Regions from separate parts of the Homo sapiens genome. Here all the other regions are linked to region 2. Evidence: promoter capture Hi-C in 16 types of primary human blood cells and fetal thymus (Javierre and others, 2016). All regions are on one chromosome and are shown on one strand. The core of a region is centred on a gene start or on the middle of the fragment in contact, and the rest is flanking DNA. Distances in the headings are between cores, read along the strand shown. Region 1 has its middle 12 kb from the start of CCDC73. Region 2 holds the start of TCP11L1 (t-complex 11 like 1). Region 3 has its middle 3.4 kb from the start of QSER1.

The links. Contacts are between HindIII fragments. The CHiCAGO score rates a contact against its expected background, and 5 or more counts as called.
Region 1: a contact is called between a fragment that was not itself captured here and the fragment with the promoter of TCP11L1 in region 2, in 1 of 17 cell types (M2 macrophages). The highest score is 5.3, in M2 macrophages.
Region 3: a contact is called between a fragment that was not itself captured here and the fragment with the promoter of TCP11L1 in region 2, in 3 of 17 cell types (activated CD4 T cells, fetal thymus and naive CD8 T cells). The highest score is 5.6, in activated CD4 T cells.

The regions. Positions count from the first base shown.
Region 1 is chr11:32,804,829-32,807,550 of GRCh38, reverse strand. It overlaps a transcript of CCDC73 not described here. Among named protein-coding and RNA genes, the nearest start is that of CCDC73, 12 kb to the right of the region's middle. The HindIII fragment of the contact is 8,561 bases long and covers 1-2,722 here.
Region 2 is chr11:33,038,205-33,040,904 of GRCh38, reverse strand. It overlaps TCP11L1 (t-complex 11 like 1), which reads right to left and starts at 1,333. Exons shown (of 10, transcript NM_018393.4): 1 at 1,113-1,333. RefSeq lists enhancers at 513-832, 1,313-1,662, 1,383-1,930 and a silencer at 933-1,332. The HindIII fragment of the contact is 10,463 bases long and covers 1-2,700 here.
Region 3 is chr11:32,888,066-32,890,770 of GRCh38, reverse strand. No RefSeq gene overlaps it. Among named protein-coding and RNA genes, the nearest start is that of QSER1, 3.4 kb to the left of the region's middle. The HindIII fragment of the contact is 5,575 bases long and covers 1-2,705 here.

The DNA of each region.
Region 1 (2,722 bases), core at 187-2,686, 230 kb after region 2:
GTGTTGGGCTGCATTCAAAGCTGTCCTGGGCCACATGCAGCCCACAAGCCATGGGTTGGACAAACTTTATGTATGGCATGCAAAACCTAAATATTTACTATCTGGCCCTTTCTAGAAAATATTTGTTGGCCTCATTTCTAGGTAGCTCTTACTCTTGAATTTCAGAATGTTTTCCATGGGTCTAGAGATTTTCCTTTATTTCCTTTCATTATCAGCAGGGGTTAGTGGTGCAGGCCGAAAGAGTGAGGGTCGTGATCAATTCAGTATACCACTGGAAGCTATACGAGTAAACAGCAAATTGTTTTCATAAATGCAGGATGTTGGCAAACTGACAAACTGCGTCCACTGCCCAGAAGGAATGCTGAGGGCAGTCACACCCAAAGTGCAGTGCTTCTTGTGATTAGGCATATTTGAAGCCTGTTAGCAATAATGTGAACCTGTGATCAATCAAACAGCTGACCAATCGTTACCTCCTCCTCCCTGCTCTTTCTACCCAATAAATAGGAAGGGCTGTAGAAGCTCAGGGTGGCTGCTCTTGCTCACTAGAAGCAGGGAGCCCTCTTCTTCTTCCCTGGACCCCTTCTTAAAAACAGATTATTTTGTCTTAAGTTTTCATTTCTGCATTCGTCTTCCTTCACTCAGACCCATAGTAGCAGTGGCAAACCGCGGCAGGTTAGTACCAGAATCAAACAGATGCTTTTTCAAATTCTGTCTGCCTGGGGCCCATGTCAGACCTATCAGATCAGAATTCTTAACTGTGCCGGCCTTTTTGCTCACATAATCCTGAGTAAGAATTTTCTAACCATTTTGCCTTTAAGGCCAGCTCTGTGATTTGGACCTGGGGAGGCTAACCACCTGAAAGAAGTCTATTTGGAAGACTTTTCTCTCGTTTCTTTCTTTCTTTCTTTTTTTTTTTTTTTGAGACAGGTCTTGCTCTGTCACCCAGGCTGCCAGGCTAGAGTGCAGTGGCATGATCTCAGCTCATTGCAACCTCCGCCTCCTGGGTTCAAGCAATCCTCCCGCCTCAGCCTCCCGAGTAGCTGGGACTACAAGTGTGCACCACCTCGCCTGGCTAATTTTTATATTTTATGTAGAGATGGGGTTTCACCGTGTTGCCCAGGCTGGTCTTGAACTCCTGGGCTCAAGGGATCCCCCCACCCGCCTCAGCCTCCCAAAGTGCGGGATGATAGGGGTGAGCTACCATGCCTGGGCAGTGACTAGCTTTTTTCTCCATGATTTTTCCTGTGTCTCCTTTGTGTCAACACCAATCAACAGGAATCTAAGTGTTATTTTAAGAGGTTTGGCTTTCACAAAAATAGCTACATTCAATAATGGAAATAAACTTGGATTTTTAACCTCCTTTAACTAGTTTTCTGCTTACAGCAAAGATTATACACATATTAGTCAGGAAGTTCACATAGGGCAATGTGAGTTAAACCCATTATTATCTTGGGTCAAATTAGTTTACTACTTCATAACAAGAAAAGAGGACTTTCCAAAAATGAGTCTTAGATCCTGCAAAGGCCACAAAATGAACCACAGATTTGGAATTAGCTATAGCTTGTTTAACTTTGGGAAAAGTATTTGAAATCTTTGGGCTTTAATTATTGGCATTGTAGTTTGAATTGAGAATTTTATTTCCTTCTTGCTCTAAAATTCTTTAATGCTATACTTGAGTATAGGCCTGTGACTGGTCAGCTCCAGTTGAGTCTCCACAGAGAAGCACTTGGTGGCTCAGAGGGCTAGTCAGGAGCAGGGGGGAAAGGCATAAAGATGTGGAAATTAACTGAAAAATAATACCATAGCTTTTCCCAAGACTGGTCTAGGTCTCTCTTGCTATGTCTTGTGGAATTTTTAACTGACTTCATATGGATGTTTCAAGCCGCATTTGGCCAAAATATCAATTTGTATGGTAGATAAATCTGATCTGAAGGATTTTCTTCAGAAAATTACCTCAAGTTGGCTTTGTGTTTTATATTTTTGTTTAACTTAGACCCACATTTTGGATATAGTTTCTTACACTTGACTTGACTCACTGAACTCTATGAATAAAGGGGCCCAGCAAGCATTTTAGTATATTTTATAGCAGTATAAGTTTTAAGAGCTCTTTCATCCTTTTCCTACTTATGTGGAATGCTTATTAATGTCACAGGGATTTACTATGATTGAAATAAAGGGAGTCTGTGACCTTGGAAAGTTTGTAAGCAGTCTTTAGGTGCATAAATGGTATAACTTGTTTATGAACATCAAATAAAAGTTCAAATAGCATTAACATGAAAAGCAGAAAATAAGATGTGGAAGATATGTCTATATCATTAACTGAAGAGAATTGAAAGAGAAATTAAATTAATTATCTGGGTAACTGCCTCATTTTTTCACTCTTAAGGCTGGGACACTATTGTTAGAAACTCACTCTACTCAGCCTGAGTAATGGAAGAGCCTTCTTTGAGATACAAGGTTCTGTATGTTCGAATTAGTGTATCAATGATTGCAGAGATAGAACTACTTTCTGATGACTTTTTTCTGTTCTCTTAAGGTGGTTTGTCTCTGTATCCACTCCTTTATTCTGCAGTTTGAGTCAGGGAAAGAACAGGTAAGTGTTTAATCTATATTCTGAACTAATTTTGAAGGAAGAAGCAGGTGAAGGTTGGGCAGAGGATGAACATTCACTACATACTTTGGCATTAGTGGAGTCTCTTTTTAATGTAAATACTCAATGAAG
Region 2 (2,700 bases), core at 84-2,583:
CAGAGGAAGAAACTAACTCTGCCTGGGAGGAGATTGAGAAAACCTTCCCAGAAAAGATGACATTTGAACTGATCTTTAAAAGGAGTAGGATTTCACCTAGTTAAAACATGTCTGGAGGGGGAGAGGAGGGGGAGAGGAGGTGAAAAGGAGGGCATTTCACTCAGAGGGCAGAAGCCAAGGCACAAGAAAATGAGAAAAGGAAGTGGCTAGAGATGATGGAAAGATGCGTTGGGGCCAGATGGTAAAAGTGCTAGTTTTTATTTTAAAATTCCCCACCTAGATTTCGAACTTCTTAAGAGCCAGGACCAGTCATATTCCCCACTTATGCTCCATCTGTATATCCCCCAAATAGACACCCACAAGTATCTGTTGATAGAGATGAATCCCTACGTCATCTCTGTGATGTCACTGTATCTGGGAGGCTGGGCGTTGGTTTCAGACATACCTGGGCCCCAATTCTGGCTCTTTACTAGCTGTGTAACTTCAGTGTCCTCCTCTGTAAAACACAGCTACCTACCTGCTCGGTTTGGGGGGAGATGAAACGAGGGATTGTGCACGGCAGGCCTTCTACAAATGGTAACTCTAATTAAAGGGCTCTAGGATGCGGCCACGAACCATTTAATTTGCTTATATCGCGCGCATCCATTCAACCCCCACTGTGTCTAAAAAGAGAGCCGAGGGGAGGAGGATCCTCGCACTTGCCAAGAAGACGGTCATCCGTCGGCGCTGCACGCGGGCCTAGGCTGGACACAAGAGGCTCCCCAGCAGAAAGGGTCTTTCGGCAAAAGAAAAAAGGGGCTCTGTCCCCCGGCGCCGGGAATCCCCTCCTCTGGCACTGAGCTCCACTCGCGCCCGGCGTCCGGATTCCGTTGTAAACAGCTGTTCAGGCCAGCGAGGGAGTGGCAGGGCCGGGAGTAGGGGAGGACGCGGGCGCGCCGAGAGGACAGCCTCGAGGGGTGAGCTCCACCCGCCCGCGGACCCCGCCTCTTCCTCGCCTGCCCCCGACATCCCGGGATGGGATCCGACGGGAAGAGGCGAAGAGATGCCTGCGACTTGGACCGCGCGCCTCCCGGACGGGCCCCGCCAGCCTCCGCCCCAGCTCCCGCTCTCACCTGCCACGGAGTCGGCGTTCTCCCTCCTGCCGCTCCCGCCGCGAATCAGGCGCGGGCTGGCGCCGCGGCGGAAGCCGGAGGGATGCGCGGCAGGCAGGGGCGGTTCAGCCTCTGCCCCTCCGAGGCCGCATCCCTCGCCACGCGGCGGGCGGTCCTCCCAGCCCGACTCGGGTGGGCAGCGGTCAGAGCGGCCGCTTCTCAGCATCAGGAAGGAGGAGACTGCTCTTGGCCGGGAGGCGCCAGCCCAATATAGGGCAGCGCCATGTCTTCGTACGGAAAGGCGGGAGGGTCTTTCCCCTGCTTGCCGAAGGGGTTCAGTAAGCGGTGACTCGCAGCTGGGCGGCGCCGTGTTTCCTCAGGGAGAGGTGGAAAACATGGCCGATGACCGCTCAGGGGGCTCCGTGGCCAGTGGCTCCCAGCCAAGAGTCGCCCGCCGCACGCAGTGAGGCGCCATGTTTTCGTACGGAAACGCGAGAGGCATGGCCGAGTGCCCGCCGATGAGTCTCAGCTGGCGGTGGCTCGAAGCTGGGGATGGCCCGCCCCTAGGCGCCATGTTTCCATACGGAAAGACGGAACGCGCGCCGCATCCCAGCCGCTGGTGCGGGTGACGCGAGGAGAAAGGGAGGCGGAGAAGGCGCGGGTCAGTCAAAAGAAGGAATAAGAAGCCATTGCATCTGAAACCTTCCCCGCCCGTTCTTTGAAATTTAATTTTGCCATCCTGTTTGTAGCTACACAAAGTTTATTCCCCTTCTCTCATTTCCTCAGCTTTAAAAAAAAGTTAGTCCGGGCGCAGCAGCTCACGCCTGTAATCCCAGCACTTTGAGAGGCCGAGGCGGGCGGATCACGAGGTCAAGAGATCGAGACCATCCTGGCCAACATGGTGAAACCTCGTCTTTACTAAAAATACGAAAATTAGCTGGGTGTGGTGGCGCGCGCCTGTAGTCCCAGCTACTCGGGAGGCTGAGGCAGGAGAATCGCTTGAATCTGGGAGGCGGAGGTTGCAGTGAGGCGAGATCGCGCCACTGCACTGCGGCCTGGAGACAGACCGAGACTCTGTCTCAAAAACAAACAAACAAAAAAAAACTACAAAAAAGCAGATGGGGTGACATTGGTGCTTTCAAACACTGCTTCTAAATAGATCACATGTGGGTAGTTATTGCTAACGTATTGAAGGCCGAGTGCAATACCAGACCCTCAAACCATTTACTAACTTGCACATTAAAGTCTTTGCTTTAAAAAAAAAAAAAAAAAGACAAAAACAGAAGTTCTCTGGTGAAGATTCACTTTTTGGAGGAAAAAACACCAAAAACCCTTAAGATACTCAACTAAATGGAACTGTTAAGATCTACAAAGAATGGCTGGGCGCGGTGGCTCACACCTGTAATCCTAGCTCTTTGGGAGGTCGGAGGTGGGTGGATCACAAGGTCAGGAGTTCGAGACCAGCCTGGCCAATATGGTGAAACCTCGTTTCTACTAAAAATACAAAAAAATTAGCCGGGCATGGTGGCATATGCCTGTAATCCCAGCTACTTGGGAGGCTGAGGCAGGAGAATTGCTTGAATCCGGGAAGCAGAGGTTGCAGTGAGCC
Region 3 (2,705 bases), core at 15-2,514, 150 kb after region 2:
GTACAATGTGATGCTTTGATATATGTAAATAAATCTTTTAAAAATTTTGTACACTTGATGATACTATCTGAAGAATGTCTTCTTCCCTACTGAAAATATACTTCCAGCTCTGTGAACGTTTCGGGATCTCTCAAATGATTCGTAACCAAGCTGCTTCAAGTCTGATCTAGGTAATGTCAAACTCTAGAATGAGCATTGTTGGTCCCGTGTTTTTGTTTGTTCGTTTTTTCAGACAGTCTCGCTCTGTCGCCCAGGCTTGAGTGCAGTGGGGTGATCTCGTCTCACTGCAACCTCCGCCTCCCGGATTCAAGCGATTCTCCTGCCTCAGCCTCCTGAGTAGCTGGGAATACAGGCGCATGCCACCACGCCCAGCTAATTTTTTTGTATTTTTAGTAGAGACGGGTTTCACCATTTTGGCCAGGCTAGTCTCGAACTCTTGACCTCAGATGATCCGCCTGCCTCAGCCTCCCAAAGTTCTGGGATTACAGGCGTGAGCCACCGCGACCTGTGAAATACGTATTGATTTTCTAATGGGATGGGAGTTAGGGTGGAAAATGTGGGGAGATTGTTCATGGGCATGTTCTAAGGCATGACTAACTCTAGACAATAAACTCAGAAGGAAGTGGGAGATGGAGGTGAGGAAGAAGGAAAGAGTTTTTTTTGTTTTTTTTCAGACAGGGTCTCGCTATGGTGTCCAAGGCTGGTCTTGAGCTCCTGGCCTCAAGCAATCCTCCCACCTCAGCCTTCCAAAGTGCTGGAAGATTCCTTCTTAAGTGTAGGATTTACTCCAATTCATCTTAAAACCAAACTGCCTTTGATTTAATCAATTTTCAAATCTTGCCCCGATTTTAGAATTGAGATAGAGTGTTTTGGTTTTTCTTTTTTGGGGGGGAAAGGAAAGGAATATGTAAATGACTAATTGGAACTTCTGAATGGGCATTTTTTTTTCTTAGATAGCGTCTTGCTCTGTCGCCCAGGCTGGAGTGCAGTGGCGCGATTTCGGCTCACTGCAAGCTCTGCCTCCTGGGTTTTACGCCATTCTCCTGCCTAAGCCTCCCGAGTAGCTGGGACTACAGGTGCCCGCCACCACGCCCAGCTAATTTTTTGTATTTTTAGTAGAGACGAGGTTTCGTCGTGTTAGCCAGGATGGTCTCGATCTCCTGACCTCGTGATATGCCCACCTCAGCCTCCCAAAGTGCTGGGATTACAGGCATGAGCCACCGCATCCAGCCTGAATGGGCATTTTTAAAGTAGCTTACATATTTATTCATTCAATAGATATGTATTTAGAGCCTAATACAGTGCCAAGCATAATACTAAATGCTGTGAATACGAGGGTAAATTTAATACAACGCCTGTCTTTATGGAACCTGTAATTTATGAGGAAAAGAGGCAGACACACAACTAATTGTAATGCAATAGGATAGTGTTAAATATAATAGAAATTGGAATAAAGCACCAGAGGACAATTGAAAAGGAAGTAATTGATTTTGCCTCTCAAAAAAAAAAAAAAAAGAAAATAAGTATTTCAACTGGTAGAAAGATTGTAGTTCTATTGAGTACATAGTTCATTGCCTTCCTTTTGTAGTTGAGGAAGCTGAGGCCTGGTATTGAGTGACTTGCTTTAAGATGATGGAGGGAATCAGTTGGGGTGAGACCCAGGAAACCCCATCTTCACTGAGGTGGCCTTGTTCATTAGCTTGTTGGGAAATGCAGAATTTGGGGTTGCCTAACTAGAAATGTAGTCAGTAAGTCCACACATTCCTATGTTATAAATAGACCAACCATCAAGAAGAAAGATCCAAGAAGGTCAAGTTTGTGGTTTCACTGAGAATACAAGGAATATGTGTGTGAGAAGTGATTTGAACAGGGAAAGAAGATATGGTTTTAAATTTTTCCCTTCTCTTCTGGCATTGAGGGAAACTATAAGCCCTGTCTTTGCCAGAGCAGCCCTGGTTTCCATCTCTTAGGTCAACATCATAAATTAAATTAAAACATCAGAAAGGAAATAAAAATTAGCCAGGCATGGTGGTGCACCTGTAGTCCTGAGAGGTGACAGCGTGCTGGCAGCCCTCGCTTGCTCTCGGCGCCTCCTAGGCCTTGGCGCCCACTCTGGCCACACTTGAGGAGCCCTTCAGCCCACTGCTGCACTGTGGGAGCCCCTTTCCGGGCTGGCCAAGGCCAGAGCCGGCTCCCTCAGCTTGAGGGGAGGTGTGGAGGGAGAGGCGGGGGCAGGAACCGGGACTGTCCGGGGCGCTTGCGGGCCAGTGCCTGTTCTGGGTAGGCGTGGGCTCGGCGGGCCCCCCACTCGGAGCTGCCAGCCAGCCCCGCCAGCCCTGGGCAGTGAGGGGCTTAGCACCTGGGCCAGCAGCTGCTGTGCTCGATTTCTTGCCGGGCCTTAGCTGCCTCCCCCGGGGGGCAGGGCTCGGGACCTGCAGCCTGCTATGCCTGAGTCTTACCCCCTGCTGTGGGCTCCTGTGGGGCGGAGCCTCCCCGATGAGCGCCGCCCCGCTGCTCCATGGCACCCAGTCCCATCGGAGGCCCAAGGGCTGAGGAGTGTGGAGCACTGCGTGGGAGTGGCAGCCAGCTCCACCTGCTGCCTGGTGCGGGATCCACTGGGTGAAACCAGCTGGGCTCCTGAGTCTGGTGGGGACTTGGAGAACCTTTACGTCTAGCTTAGGGATTGTAAATACACCAATGGGCAC